5 separate regions of the Homo sapiens genome follow, and all the other regions are linked to region 1. The links are contacts of gene promoters, found by promoter capture Hi-C in blood cells and fetal thymus (Javierre and others, 2016). All regions are on one chromosome and are shown on one strand. Each heading gives the region's core, a stretch centred on a gene start or on the middle of the fragment in contact. The rest is flanking DNA. Distances are from core to core; before and after follow the strand shown.

Evidence for each region. The method cuts DNA at HindIII sites, captures the fragments that hold promoters and counts their contacts. A CHiCAGO score of 5 or more calls a contact.
Region 2: a contact is called between the fragment with the promoter of ZC3HC1 here and a fragment that was not itself captured in region 1, in 6 of 17 cell types (fetal thymus, M2 macrophages, megakaryocytes and 3 more). The highest score is 7.9, in fetal thymus.
Region 3: a contact is called between the fragment with the promoter of TMEM209 here and a fragment that was not itself captured in region 1, in 1 of 17 cell types (M2 macrophages). The highest score is 5.5, in M2 macrophages.
Region 4: a contact is called between the fragment with the promoter of CPA4 here and a fragment that was not itself captured in region 1, in 8 of 17 cell types (M1 macrophages, M2 macrophages, M0 macrophages and 5 more). The highest score is 8.6, in M1 macrophages.
Region 5: a contact is called between the fragment with the promoter of CPA2 here and a fragment that was not itself captured in region 1, in 11 of 17 cell types (M2 macrophages, endothelial precursors, M1 macrophages and 8 more). The highest score is 10.6, in M2 macrophages.

What each region holds. Positions count from the first base shown.
Region 1 is chr7:130,819,924-130,822,623 of GRCh38, forward strand. All of the region lies in intron 3 of LOC105375508 (a long non-coding RNA gene), which reads left to right. All of the region lies in intron 2 of LOC105375509 (a long non-coding RNA gene), which reads right to left. It also overlaps the pseudogene LOC347674. Among named protein-coding and RNA genes, the nearest start is that of MIR29A, 56 kb to the right of the region's middle. The HindIII fragment of the contact is 2,375 bases long and covers 201-2,575 here.
Region 2 is chr7:130,049,958-130,052,657 of GRCh38, forward strand. It overlaps ZC3HC1 (zinc finger C3HC-type containing 1), which reads right to left and starts at 1,417. Exons shown (of 10, transcript NM_016478.5): 1 at 1,264-1,417. The coding sequence starts at 1,409. RefSeq lists enhancers at 751-1,543, 1,171-1,480, 1,541-1,730. The HindIII fragment of the contact is 10,065 bases long and covers 929-2,700 here.
Region 3 is chr7:130,204,046-130,206,745 of GRCh38, forward strand. TMEM209 (transmembrane protein 209) reads right to left here and starts at 1,361. Exons shown (of 15, transcript NM_032842.4): 1 at 1,328-1,361; 2 at 1-65. The coding sequence starts at 1,330. It also overlaps a transcript of SSMEM1 not described here. RefSeq lists a silencer at 1-138 and enhancers at 800-1,599, 1,276-1,455, 1,516-1,625. The HindIII fragment of the contact is 16,046 bases long and covers 1-2,700 here.
Region 4 is chr7:130,291,711-130,294,410 of GRCh38, forward strand. CPA4 (carboxypeptidase A4) reads left to right here and starts at 1,451. Exons shown (of 11, transcript NM_016352.4): 1 at 1,451-1,538. The coding sequence starts at 1,471. RefSeq lists an enhancer at 1,856-1,945. The HindIII fragment of the contact is 9,413 bases long and covers 1-1,961 here.
Region 5 is chr7:130,265,477-130,268,176 of GRCh38, forward strand. It overlaps CPA2 (carboxypeptidase A2), which reads left to right and starts at 1,387. Exons shown (of 11, transcript NM_001869.3): 1 at 1,387-1,476. The coding sequence starts at 1,406. The HindIII fragment of the contact is 5,023 bases long and covers 95-2,700 here.

The sequences.
Region 1 (2,700 bases), core at 138-2,637:
CCTCCCAAAGTGCTGGGATTACAGGTGTGAGCTACCGTGCCCGGCCCACTCTAGCTTTTTTATGATTAGTATTTACATATTTTTGCACCTCTTTACTTTCAGTGTATCTATGTCTTTATATTCAAAGTTCATCTTTGTAGGCAGAATATAGTCGAGTCTTATTTTCTATCCAGTCTGACAATCTTCGCTTTTAGTCAGAAAGCTTCTTATTGACATGGTTGAGTTTCAGCCTATCATCTTACTATCTTCTTTCGTCTATCCCAGCTGCTCTTTTTCCCTTTGTTCTTTCTTCCTGCGTTATTTCAGATTAATCAGTTTTTTTTAGCATTCCACTGTATCCCCCTTTCTCATTTTTAGCTATGCCCCTTTTAAGTGGTTACTCTAGGGTTATGGTACAGATATCCAACTCATCATAGTCTCCTGTGAGTTAATATAGTATCTCTTAACCTATAATTTGAGAACATTATAATGTTGTATTTCTTTTTTTCTTTTTTCTTTTTTTTTCTGGAGATGAAGTCTCGCTGTGTCGTCCAGGCTGGAGTGCAGTGGTGTGATCTCGGCTTACTGCAACCTCCGCCTCCCGGGTTCAAGCAATTCCCCCGTCTCAGCCTCCCGAGTAGCTAGGACTACAGGTGCGCATGCCACCATGCCTGGCTAATTTTTGTATTTTTAGTAGAGACGGGGTTTCACCATATTGGTCAGGCTGGTCTTGAACTCCTGACCTCAGGTGATCCACCCACCTCGGCCTCCCAAACTGCTGGGATTACAGGTGTGAGCCACCGCGCCCAGCCATAATGTTATATTTCTTTCTTTCTTTCTTTTTTTTTGAGGCAGAGTCTTGCTCTGTCTCCCAGGCTGGAGTGCAGTGGCCCAATCTTGGCTCACTACAACCTCCGCCTCCTGGGTTCAAGTGATTCTCCTGCCTCAGCCTCCTGAGTAGCTGGGACTACTGGTGTCTACCACCACACCCTGCTAATTTTTGTATTTTTAGTAGAGACAGGGTTTCACCATATTGGCCAGGCTGGTCTGGAACTCCTGACCTTGTGATCTGCCTCGGCCCCACAAAGTGCTGGGATTACAGGTGTGAGCCACTGCGCCCGGCCCATAATGTTATATTTCTAATAACCTCCATCCTGTTTTTATTTTTTTGCTATTGTTAAGTACAACATATCTGTATGTAAACTTTCCATATCTTGTAAACCACACAATGTATTCTTATTTTTATTTTAGTCAGTTTTCCTTTAAAGAAGTTAAGTAAACAAGTAAATTTTAAACAATGTGTTTACTGTTTTTGGTACTCTTAATTTCTTCCTATAGATCTGTTACTAATTGGTATTGCATTTCCTTTATCCTGAAGTACTTCCTTTTACATTTCTTGTAGTGCAGGTCTACTGGCAACAAATTCTATCAGATTTTACTTATTTGTAAATATTTTTATTTTTATTTTCTTCTTGAAGGGATATGTTTTCTAAAATTCTAGTTGACTTTTTTTTTCTTCAGCATTTTAAAGATTTCCCATTGCTTTTTGGCTTCCATTGTTTCTTTCTTTTCTTTTCTTTTTTTTTTTTTTTTGAGACAGAGTCTCGCTCCGTCCCCCGGGCTGGAGTGCAGTGGCACAATCTCAGCTCACTGCAAGCTCTGCCTCCCAGGTTCATGCCATTCTCCTGCCTCAGCCTCCCGAGTAGCTGGGACTATAGGTGCCCGCCACCACGCCTGGCTAATTTTTTGTATTTTGTAGTAGAGACGGGGTTTCACCATGTTAGCCAGGATGGTCGCGATCTCCTGCCCTCGTGATCTGCCCGCCTTGGCCTCCCAAAGTGCTGGGATTACAAGCATGAGCCACCATGCCCAGCTTTCTTGTTTTTTTTTCCAGCTCTGTCACCCAGGCTGGAGAGCAGTGGCACGATCTTGGCTCACTGCAACCTCCACCTCCCAGGTTCAAGCCATTCTCATGCCTCAGCCTCCTGAGTAGCTGGGATTACAGGCACATGCCACCGTGGCCAGCTAATTTTTTTATTTTTAGTAGAGACGGGTTTTTGCCATGTTGGCCAGACTGATCTTGAACTCCTGACCTCAAGTGATTCACCCACCTCAGCCTCCCCAAGTATTGGGATTACAGACATGAGCCACTGTGCCCAGCCTGCTTCCATTGTTTCTAGTAAGATGTCAGCCATAGTTCTTATTGTTGTATGTACTGTGATATATCCCTCTCTGCCTTCCCCCTTCCCCCAGCCGCTTTTGAGATTTTCTCTTTATTTTTGGTTCTCTGCAGTTTGACATTTATGTATGTGCCTCAGCATAGTTTTCTTTTTGTTCATCTTGCTCAGGGTTTCCTTAGCTTAGTGGTGCTTTGGGTTTGTTCACCTTCAAATTGGGAAGATGTTGGTCATTATTTTTTAAAGTATTTTTTCTTCTCCATTCTCTCTCTCCTATTCTTCCGGGACTTGAATTATATATATTAGATCACTTCAAATTGTCCCACAGATCAGTGATTCTTTATACATTTTTATTTCAATCTTTCTCTCTTTTTTTCTTTCAGTTGAAACATACAACTTTTTTGATGATACACAAATGAAGCTTTTGGTGGATAAATTGAAGTCAAAACAAATAACAAAACAGTATGTCATTTATAATAGACAGGTTCACTGTCAATTCAGAGGAACCAGTAAAAAATATTTCAATCCAAGCAGCATGATTAAA
Region 2 (2,700 bases), core at 167-2,666, 770 kb before region 1:
CAAAGATCTTCGGGAGATTTCATGAAAAAAAAATCAGGGAGAAAAAAACTCAGCAAAGCAATTCTCTCATTTTCAGTGGAAGGCATTTCAACAGTGCCTGGGGAATTGCTGAAAGACAAGCATTTATTTATTTATTTAGAGACGGAGTCTCACTCTGTCACTCAGGCTGGAGTGCAGTGACGCGATCTCGGCTCACTGCAACCTCCGCCTCCCAGGTTCAACCAATTCTCCTGCCTCAGCCTCCCGAGTAGCTGGGACTACAGGCGCGGGCCACCACGCCCGGCTAATTTTTTGTATTTTTAGTAGAGATGGGGTTTCACCGTGTTAGCCAGGATGGTCTTGATCTCCTGACCTCGTGATCTGCCCGCTTCAGCCTCCTCAAAGTGCTGGGATTATAGGCGTGAGCCACCGCGCCCGGCGACAGGCATTATTTTAATAAAAATAGGATTACATCAACGATTATAGCTCAAAAGAAATAAACTTACTCTAAGACTCTCAGAGATTCATAGAGAGCCTCAAGCGGGTGTGGTTCTAGGCCAAAAAAAATTCACAGCATCCATAAACTTGGATGGGTAAAAATGACATTTATTTCTCTCTAAATGACAAGATTTAGCATTTTCTTCAATTATGAATGAAGGTAAAAACACCATAGTAGTATTAGCAGTACCTGCTAATTTGTCACCAATGGAAATAATGTTCCCACATTATGGTGGTTGCATGTCTTCAAATACCTTTGTGCTCATCACTACTTCAAAATTATGGTTGACAACACATACTACTAGATATTATGGACTCTTTAATAAAAAGCATTGTTACTGCGTAACTTTTTCCTTTTACCATCTTGATAACTACATTCCAATCTAACTGGTTTCCTTTATAATCCTATGTAATTTACTTTAAGCATTTAAAAATATTCTGAGAGTTAATAAGCTTCTCCAGAGAGCCAAAGGGGTCCACGGCACAAAAAAAGGTTAAGAATCCCCAATTAAGAGAAGTCAAGTGAACTCATTCAGTTAACGGTCCTCTTTACTTCCAAAAATAATGTCCGATGACAAAATTTCGGCTGCGGTTGGGAATCTGGTACACCCCGAGGGGAAGATCAAAGCCGATCAAACATAGTAACCAGAGTTTCTTTCAGATTCTAAGAAGCCATCCCCACTGCCCGAGTCGCCGACCGAGGGGAACCTCCCCCAACCCGCCACCCCTTCCCCAAGCCTTCTTCAATCTTCCAACGCCGGACCCAGGGTTAACTCGTGAACTCACGCGTCCACGCCTCCCTCTTCCGGGGCAATCCCCTCATCTATCAGCTGCCGGATTTTCTGGGGGGTCCCTTCTGGGGAGCGAACTACTGCACCCCAATTCTTTTCAACCCCTACGGCAAACGCTTGTCCCTCACAGGGCGCCGCCATCTTGGTCCGCTGCCGAGTTGCTTCCCCGAGAGTTTGAAGGCTCCGGAACTTCCGTCCTGGGAGGTTAATATCCGCCTCTTGAGGCAGCCTGGCTGGGAAAGTCTAACCGCGGGGCCCACGCCTTTTCTCATCATTTTAGAACCTTAGAGCGAGCTTAAGGAGGGCTGTACTGTTTAGGACAATCTTGATTAATCGTTTCCTTTATCAACTAGCATATTTAGGTTGATAAGAGATTTTTAGAACGCTGTCAGTCCAAATTCAGCAGGGATGAGGGGCTCAACTTAATTTTCAAGTAATATTAACTAATACGGCCGGGCGCCGTGGCTCATGCCTGTAATCCCAGCGGTTTGGGAGGCCGAGGTGGGCGGATCGCCTGAGGTCAGGAGTTCGAGACCAGCCTGGCCAACATGGTGAAACCCCATCTCTACCAAAAATACAAAAATTAGCTGGACTTGCTGGCGGGCGCCTGTAATCCCAGCTACTAGGGAGGCTGAGGTAGGAGAATCGCTTGAACCCGGGAGGCGGAGGTTGCAGTGAGCCGAGATTGCGCCACTGCACTCCAGCCTGGGCGACAAGAGCAAAACTCCGACTCAAAAAAAATAAAAATAAAAATAAATTAACTCATACGACCCTCCTAAGTTGCACCTTTCTACAAGCGAGGAAATGGTGACCCTCATTGGAGAGCAAATAATTTAGAATCCTTGTTGGAAACCGTGTTATGGATGGATTTAGAAGTCTGTGGCATTTGACACTATTGATACTCCTTCCTTAGTCCAACAAATATTTATTGAAAACGTCCTATTTATTTTTTTTGAGATGGAGTTTCGCTCTTGTTGCTCAGGCTGCAGTGCAATGGCGCGATCTCGGCTCACTGCAACCTCTGCCTCCCGGGTTCAAGCGATTCTCCTACGTCAGCCTTCCGAGCAGCTGGGATTACAGGCATTCGCCAACACGCCCAGCAATTTTTTTTTTTTTTTTTTGTATTTTTAGTAGGGACGGGATTTCACCATGTTGGTCAGGCTAGCCTTGAACTCCTGACCTCAGGTGATCCGCCCGCCTCGGCCTCCCAAAGTGTTGGGATTACAGGCATGAGCCACCGCGCCCGGCCGAAAGCATCCTATTGATAGTCTCTAGGCACTAGCAATGACAGTCGTGAGCAAAGAAGCTGTAGATCTTGGTGGAGTTAGATGTCAAATTTTCCTATAGTTTTAAAATTATGATTACAAGTGCTCCAAGGATGTACCAAGGTTATAATAGGAGAATCTAATTTAGTTTGCACATTCTCCTGAGA
Region 3 (2,700 bases), core at 111-2,610, 620 kb before region 1:
GTTTCTTTTCTCATCTTGATGGTTCTGTCAATAAGGGAAGCACTAGGGTGTGCCTCCCCCTGCATCTATGAAAAAACAAAAAGCACAGGAATTAACCAGAAGAAACTATTGCTCCATTTAAAAACCAAATTTTGCATCCCTTATAAAGGTAACTGAAACCGCATATACCTTCTCTCATCTTTAAAATGTTTTATCAAAACTTCTTCCATTTTAATATCAGTATATGAAAAGGGAACCCAAAATTATATGTAACTTAATTGGCATCACAGTGTAATCAACAGAGAAGTGGCTGGTTATTTATCTATTTATTTGTTTTGAGACGGAGTCTTGCTGTCTCCCAGGCTAGAATGCAGTGGCGCGATCTCGACTCACTGCAACCTCCGCCTCCCGGGTTCAAGCGATTCTCCTGCCTCAGACTCCCGAGTAGCTGGGATTACAGACGCCCGCCACCGCGTCCGACTGATTTTTGTATTTTTAGTAGAGACGGGATTTCAACATTTTGGCCAGGCTGGTCTCGAACTCCTGACCTTGTGATCCACCCGCCTCGGCCTCCCAAAGTGTTGGGATTACAGGCGTGAGCCACCGCGCCCAGCCGTGGCTGGTTATTTAAGAACAATTTAATACTTCCAATACATAAAAATGTCTTATTTTGTAATTTAAGGGTTATGTCTAGAAATACTTTGTATTTTGTCTTTGGGGTATGTTACACGGACTAGGCAAAAGGCTAACTTCAGAAACTCAAAATGTCAAGTTTTGGGAGACTATATTCCATATCTGCTGTAAGTCATAAAGACTGTTGTACATCCTCATGCAGACGCCATTACTATCTCAACAACTCTGCACTTGGACAGCTGTACTCCAGGGCTCTCCCTTTTGTGTGTGGATAAAGGACAAGGATCCAAGTTTTAGAAGGGCACGTACTTATGATGGGGTGGTGAGCGGAGTAAGAGGGAGAGAGGGGAAAACGTGCATTGTTTTGGTCCACATTTGGGATTTATAATTCCTCCTTTCTTCAGCTAGGCTCAACTCTTACAGACCGTGCAAAACTTGTTCCAGCGACAAGCAGTCGTATCCCACAGAGGACAGAGCAATAGCTTTCGCGCCACTCAGCCCCCGCGTCCCAATTTCCCAGTCCAGAGCTTCCCTCCCCGGCTCCTGGGCACGAACTTCAGCAACCCTATTGCTTCTTTCTTCCCTTCCCCTAGAGAGGCGGAACGCCTAGCCACATCCCCCTTGGCTGAACCCAGGACAGATCAGCAGGCGCGGAACTCCCACAACCCGCGTAGATTCCAAGACAGGAAGCACAAACACGACCCCGAAAACGCACCATGTCCTCTGGCCGGAAAACGCAGGCTCGCGCCACTCTCTCTGGGCATGCGCAAAGCCAAGCTCAAGCGGGAGGCCACCGGCAAGCGGCTCTAAAGTTACCGGAAGAACTAGGTAGTCTCTTCTCGCGAGAAAGGGAGGGGTCGCAGGCCCAGGCGCTCGGAGCGTTACCAGGGAAACAGGTCTCGGTTTTGCGGCTCCCACTCAGCTGCGGGAGAAAGCTAAGCAGCAAAATTCAGACCAGGCTCTGAACCCGCAGTAAAAAGTAATAATTGTAACAAGCTGAATTTTGTATCTATTAATATAATTTTAGCTTCCCTAGGGCATTTATGGACTCACATGTGTAAACTGATTAAGTAGGGCGGCTCACCGTAGGATAGAGTGGCGTGATAAAGTGGCCAGACACCATCAGTGACAAAGCATTTCTTTCCCCTGTGTTAAAGTATCTATGTCAAGAGTCCTGACCCCATGTAATTTTTTTTTTGGTAGAGACAGGGTTTCGCCATGTTGGCCAGTCTGGTCTCGATTTCCTAACCTCAAGGGATCCGCCCGCCTCAGCCTCCCAAACGCCTGCTGGCCTCCCACCGCCTTTTGGGATTACAGGCGTGGCCCACCGCGCCCGGCCTAAATTCTTAATCTGTTTAATAGGGTGCAGCAATAACAAGCACACCCAAAATTTGTTTTATTGAAGTTGCTAGTGGTTTTGAGGTTAAAAATAATAACACATTTTCGTATGTATTTTTTGGAAGAGCTGCTCATCCTGAGGAAAAGGTTGAGCTTTGTTTTATTTAGCACAAATACCTACAAGTGTGCCGCTGAGCCAGGCGCACGGATATAGAAAATAAGACCTTCCTGGTTATTACCCAGAGGAGCTCAACCCCAGCGGAGGCCCACAGATGCATTTCGGTGGCAGGTGAGGTGGATGCAGTGCTCCCCAAGGAGGCGCATCCAGCCCAGCCCCAGCTCTCGCGAGCTTCCTGGAGGAGATGACGCGTTAGAGTCCACAGCCAGAAACCCAGGGCCTGGGGACTTGTTCTGAAGTGTGCCTCCTAATAAAAACATTAAGCCATGCCACAGTAAGCTAGTGGATTACATCATGTATGTCCAATGGCCAAAGTTTTTCCTAAAATGATCCTAAGATTAATACCACGTGGTATTGTATATTAATGAAAATCGGCAGGTATGCTGTGCTCTTGAAGAGCTGTTAAGTTTTATCATTTTTAGATTGCTTTAGCAGCAATGTTGTTTTGCTCTAGTTTTAGATTTAGAGATGAACTAACTGGAAAATTGTTCAAAGTGAAAGGGCTCAAGGTGCAATCAAAATTAGAATACCGGCCGGGCGCGGTGGCTCACGCCTGTAATCCCAACACTTTG
Region 4 (2,700 bases), core at 201-2,700, 530 kb before region 1:
CCAGCCTGAGCAAAGATCCTGCGAAGTCATCCCTCCCACCTTGATATCTGATCAAGTTCCTCATCCCCACCTTTGATGGGGACTTTGATGTATAAGTCCTTGGCCTGCTTTTAGCAAGAATCCCCCTACCTTGATGTCTTCTCTTAGTAATCCCACTGATCCTCTCTGTTTTCTTTGCCGTATTCAGTGTTAAGCACAGTAAGTCTTTCCTACTGAAATAGCCATGGTCCTAATCATAATAATCTTGAATTAGGTCTTACATTTTAACACAGGTCAGGATAGTTTTTCTTTAACTCTCTCAACTATGACCCTTGGTTGTGTCCACTCCCTTTGAGTGGGTGTGGAAAGCATGTAGACCGTAGGGAGGGTGGGATGGGAAAGGCTGTGGGAACTGGGGCTCCCAGGACAGACTCAAAGGTCCCAGAGCCCCTGAAGGCGTTATGGAGATATGAGTGTCTTCCATTTATTCAGCTGTGACTTGGCGGAAAGGACACCAGACCCACAGTCTAGGAAGTATAAGAAAATCTTATTATTTATTTATTTATTTATTTGAGATGGAGTCTCACTCTGTCGCCCAGGCTGGAGTGCAGTGGTGCGATCTCGGCTCACTGCAAGCTCCGCCTCCCAGGTTCACGCCATTCTCCTGAGTAGCTGGGACTACAGGCGTCCGCCACCACGCCCGGCTAATTTTTTGTATTTTTAGTAGAGACGAGGTTTCACTGTGATAGCCAGGATGGTCTCAATCTCCTGACCTCGTGATCCGCCCACCTCGGCCTCCCAAAGTGCTAGGATTACAGGCATGAGCCACCTCGCCCGGCTGAAAATCTTATTATTGATAAAACCATTAAGCCTTCCCCATAGATCAGACCCCAAGGAACACTGATAATTTATTCAGACTAAAACATCCTTTCTATATCATTTGCCTGATACATTTCTATTTCCTTAGTGGAGTCAGAAGAATTAGGCTTCAGATACATAAAAGAGGCCCCAAACCTCTTTCCTCATCCTGACCTGCCCTGGTGAAATTCTCTGGCAGGGCTTGTCAAGCATGTGGTCTTGGAGCCAGCTCAGTCTTGCTTTGATAGTCTTAACTTTTTTATTATTATTCTAGAGGTAATTCTATGCCAGGTTTATAATCTGACCTCTCCTATCAGGATAAATTCCATCCAACACTGTGGAATTAGCTTATTCACTGAAAAAACACTATTTAAATGCCAAGTGATGAGCAATATGGTACCCTTGGCACAGACTTTTTCAGCTCCTGGAGCAAGTTCCTGACCTTGTAAATTGAGATGCTCAACCTTTATCACTTGAAAGGAATGGGAGAGGCATTGGTAGGGCCTGCCTGTCACAGTCAGAGTTGCAAGGGTGCTTGGGAATCACATTAGCATTTTTGAGGACTTGAGTCACTCTCAGACTCTTTATAAATACAGCTTGACTCAGCCACTGTATGACTGACTCCCCGGGGACATGAGGTGGATACTGTTCATTGGGGCCCTTATTGGGTCCAGCATCTGTGGCCAAGAAAAATTTTTTGGGTAAGTTCCTTTTGGACTTATTATTTGGTTATTTCAGAAATATGGGAGCCAAATGGAACTGAAAATGAATGGCTGATAATAGCTCACATGGAGGAAGAAGACCTGGGCTCTTGTTCCAGCTTTGCCCCTGTGTCATCCTGGACAAGTCCACTCTCTTCTCTGAGACCCCATTTCATCTGTGAAATCAGGACTAGATGATCATTGCAGTCTCTCCCCAGCTCCCTCATCTCCTGCCAGTTCTTTTTCTGCCTAGTTCTTACTTATAAGGTCAGTTCCAGGCATCTACTTTCTTACTCCTACCTTATTAATTACTAAGAGTTACTGGTTACTAAGAGCTACGTTATTAATTACTAAGAGTTACTGGTTACCAGAAATGGTTTGTTTCCAATTTCCGCCATGCATAAAGGGAAACCCTGGGTCTCAAGCTTGTTGGTTTCACTTCTTTGTTAATGGCGAAGGCTTTGCAGAGCTGGTGCCTTCTCTTGATCTGCAGTTTAATGCTCTACCCCTGAGCTACACCCTCTTCTGAGCTGGTGCTTTCTTACTGGCTTCTGGGACGTGGAGATTTCACAGGTCTTGCCTAGACACAGCTATGAAAATGACATGCAGAGACACATGCCTGAACACCGTGTGTGTGTGCGCGTGTGTGTGTGCACACACACACGTGCTCAACACGCTCCATGCAGAATACTTTGAGGTTTGCAGGGGAGAGGACATTTGGGTGGTAGGAGAGATAAAAGGGATACCATGGTGCCCTGTTAGAAGACTGAATTATAATAACTCATTACTGCATAATACTTTACCATTTGCAAAGAGCTTTCATGTACATTATCTTTTTGATCACACAACAACTTTGCCAGGCAGGGGTGTTATTTTCTTCCACTTAAACATGAAAAAAATCAGCCTTAGAATGTTAAGGAACGCGCTCAAGGCCACTTAGCTGGGAAGCAGGGGAGCTGGAACTCTGAACGTAAAACTCGTACCCTTTTGCTATAACACAAGTTCATCTCCAAATAAAATCCTATATCTCTTGGATCTGTCTCTTAGTTTTCTTTCTATTTTACTATCTGGCTAATGAGACTTTGGGGTTGTTTTTTGAGGTAATTACTTATATGAGATTGACTAAGTTTTATGATGATGACTTCTGTTCACACCTGTGTCT
Region 5 (2,700 bases), core at 137-2,636, 550 kb before region 1:
CTGACCTCGTGATCCACCTGCCTTGGCCTCCCAAAGTGCTGGGATTACAGGCGTGAGCCACTGAGCCCAGCCTGAAACTTGATTTTTTCCAGGAAGCTTTTATTGATTCTCCAAGTACATACTTCCAGTTTATTGAACTACTGTTTATTTGATAGGTGCTGGAGACATGAGGATGAATTATGGCCTCTGCCTTTTGGTTTCTGTCTTCTCTCTGACTCCCAGGAGAATGAAAAACCAAGTTAATCCAGTCATTCTTAAAATCAGAAACACTGTGTATATACCTTTCCCCTTAAAGCAGATATTTGAGAATGCAAACCCAGAGATTTAAAGTGTGTGCTGATAAATTTGACACACAAAGGACAGACGAAAATTTCCTTGCTGCTTGTTGTGGTTGAGGCTTTCTAGGCTTAATATAACGTGTATGAACAACTAAAATTAAATAAACTATGGTTTCTAAAAATAAGCAGTTATATTTTCTTCTTAAGCAATGAAGAACAAAGTCAGATTAATGTAGATCTATGTTTATGAACAAGAAAAGATCACCTTTGTTTAAAGAACAGTATACGTGATATGGTCTAATCTTTGTTTAAGAAAAAAACTCGAAAGCAGAGAAAGAAATTTGGAAAGACATATGCCAAATGGTTTTCTTTGGATGGAAGAATTATTGATGGTTAAAGAAAACACTTTCTTTTAATTCACACTTTTTATAACAAGCAACTTCATTGTTGCTTGTTATAGGAAATGTCATCAGAAAGACATTTTCATTTTGGGAAAAAGCACAGAAAGAGGGATATCAATTTGGTGCAAATGCAGATGGATCACTTTCGAGAAAGTGCAAAATTGAATATTAAAAGGCCTTCTGTTTTGTTTTAATGTAGAGTGAGGATTGGAATGGGCCACATCTACAGGGACACTCAGCAGATGTGGACTGAGTGACTGCAGTGTTTCAAGGTAAACATTATAAAAATAAACAAATGAGCAAACTAATGGAATGTGATAGACAGGATGCCTGAGTAATTACTATAAATGCTCTGGCCTTTTTTTTGTGTGTGTGTCAGAGACCCAGAAAAGACTTTAACCTCTAGGTCTATTAATCTGGCTTCTATCACAGGGTAGCTAGTGGCGTTTTATGGTCTCAATCATAACTATATTGCCCTTGGTATGCTCTAGCAATTTTGTTCTCTTTCCATCAAAGTTTGTTATCTTATCCTAGGAATGGAACATGTACACATTGGTGATATCACACAGGTGGATGTCTACAACCTTGAGAATTTCACATGCAGGTGGGAATTTTCCCATGTGGGAATTCACGTGAGTTCTCAGAAGGCCAGCAGATCACCCTCAGCTGCCATCCCTACAAATAAAGTTCAGGAAGGACTCTGAATTCTGGACTCCAGGAAAACCCATGGCCATGAGGTTGATCCTGTTTTTTGGTGCCCTTTTTGGGCATATCTACTGTCTAGAAACATTTGTGGGGTAAGTTATGCTTTCTGGTGCTTCTTTGAATTTTACTTACCTGATTGATGGAGGCTTTGATTGTTACAGAGTAAATGGGTATAAGTGTTCAGTGTTTTCAGAGAAGTTCTCTTAGATTTGGGGATAAGTCAATAGTGTGAAAAAAAGGAGTGGATGATCAAAAAGGAGGTGAATGACATTTAAAGGAAAAGACAAAAGTGAAAACTGAACACACATAACCCTATTTCTCTCTGTCCTTACTCATTTTTCCCTCCAGTGATCAGACTGTAGGGATGATAGACATCAGGGAAAATACAGCTGTGTGGCCATTTGTTCCAGGCAACTCAGCGGGTGTCAATGCTACTCTCCCACCTCCTCCTGCTCTTCTGGGCTTTACCATCCACGTTAGCCCTTGTGCCCTAACCCCCGATCTTTAGATTCAGCACCTAGGTGGTGGAACCTCATGAAGTAGAAAGGCCAGGGCTATAGATTTCAGCTCAACTCCTCCTCTCCTGGCTTTGGAGGACTCATCTTTGCTCCAAAGTACTTTGCTTCATGATTCTATGAAGGGTTTCAGGCAGCATTTTTTGAAGAGTGGTCCAGGGAGCTAAGAAAGCAATCAAATAAGTTTGGTCCCAAAAAGCCACTGGTCAAATAAATGTGGGAATCAGAGGATTAAACAAACTATAGGATTTCTAGGAGCCTTGGCTAAATCAGTGTGCATTATAAATCTATAAGAGGGGATCTAGGTTGCAGCATGTACTCTTTTTTTTAATCATAAACTACCTACTGCTCCCAGCTTGCCCTTTCTTTCTTTCTCTTTCTCTTTCTTTCTTTCTTTCTCTTTCTTTCTTTCTTTCTTTCTTTCTTTCTTTCTTTCTTTCTTTCTTTCTTTCTTTCTTTCACTGAGTAACTCAAAGAACTACTATTCTTTAGAACACACACCAGGAAATATGACCCTGTTGTATTACTTTTCTCAGTGCCTTCCCATTTTAAAGGAGGACTCCTGGGAGTCCATGCATTAACCGAAAATAATGAGACTTAAATGGAAGAATTTTCAGACCATTTGTGGCAGGTGAGCCTCGAAGAGCTCACATTCCATCACTTCTGTATTCCACTGGAGTTCGTAGGAAATTGCATGGAGCTTGGTTTCAGAAGACCCATATTCTGGTCCCTGTACATGGCTCATTGTATTGATTCCTTCCCCACTGCACAAACAGTTGGGGCAGTGACTTAGGAAGTCTG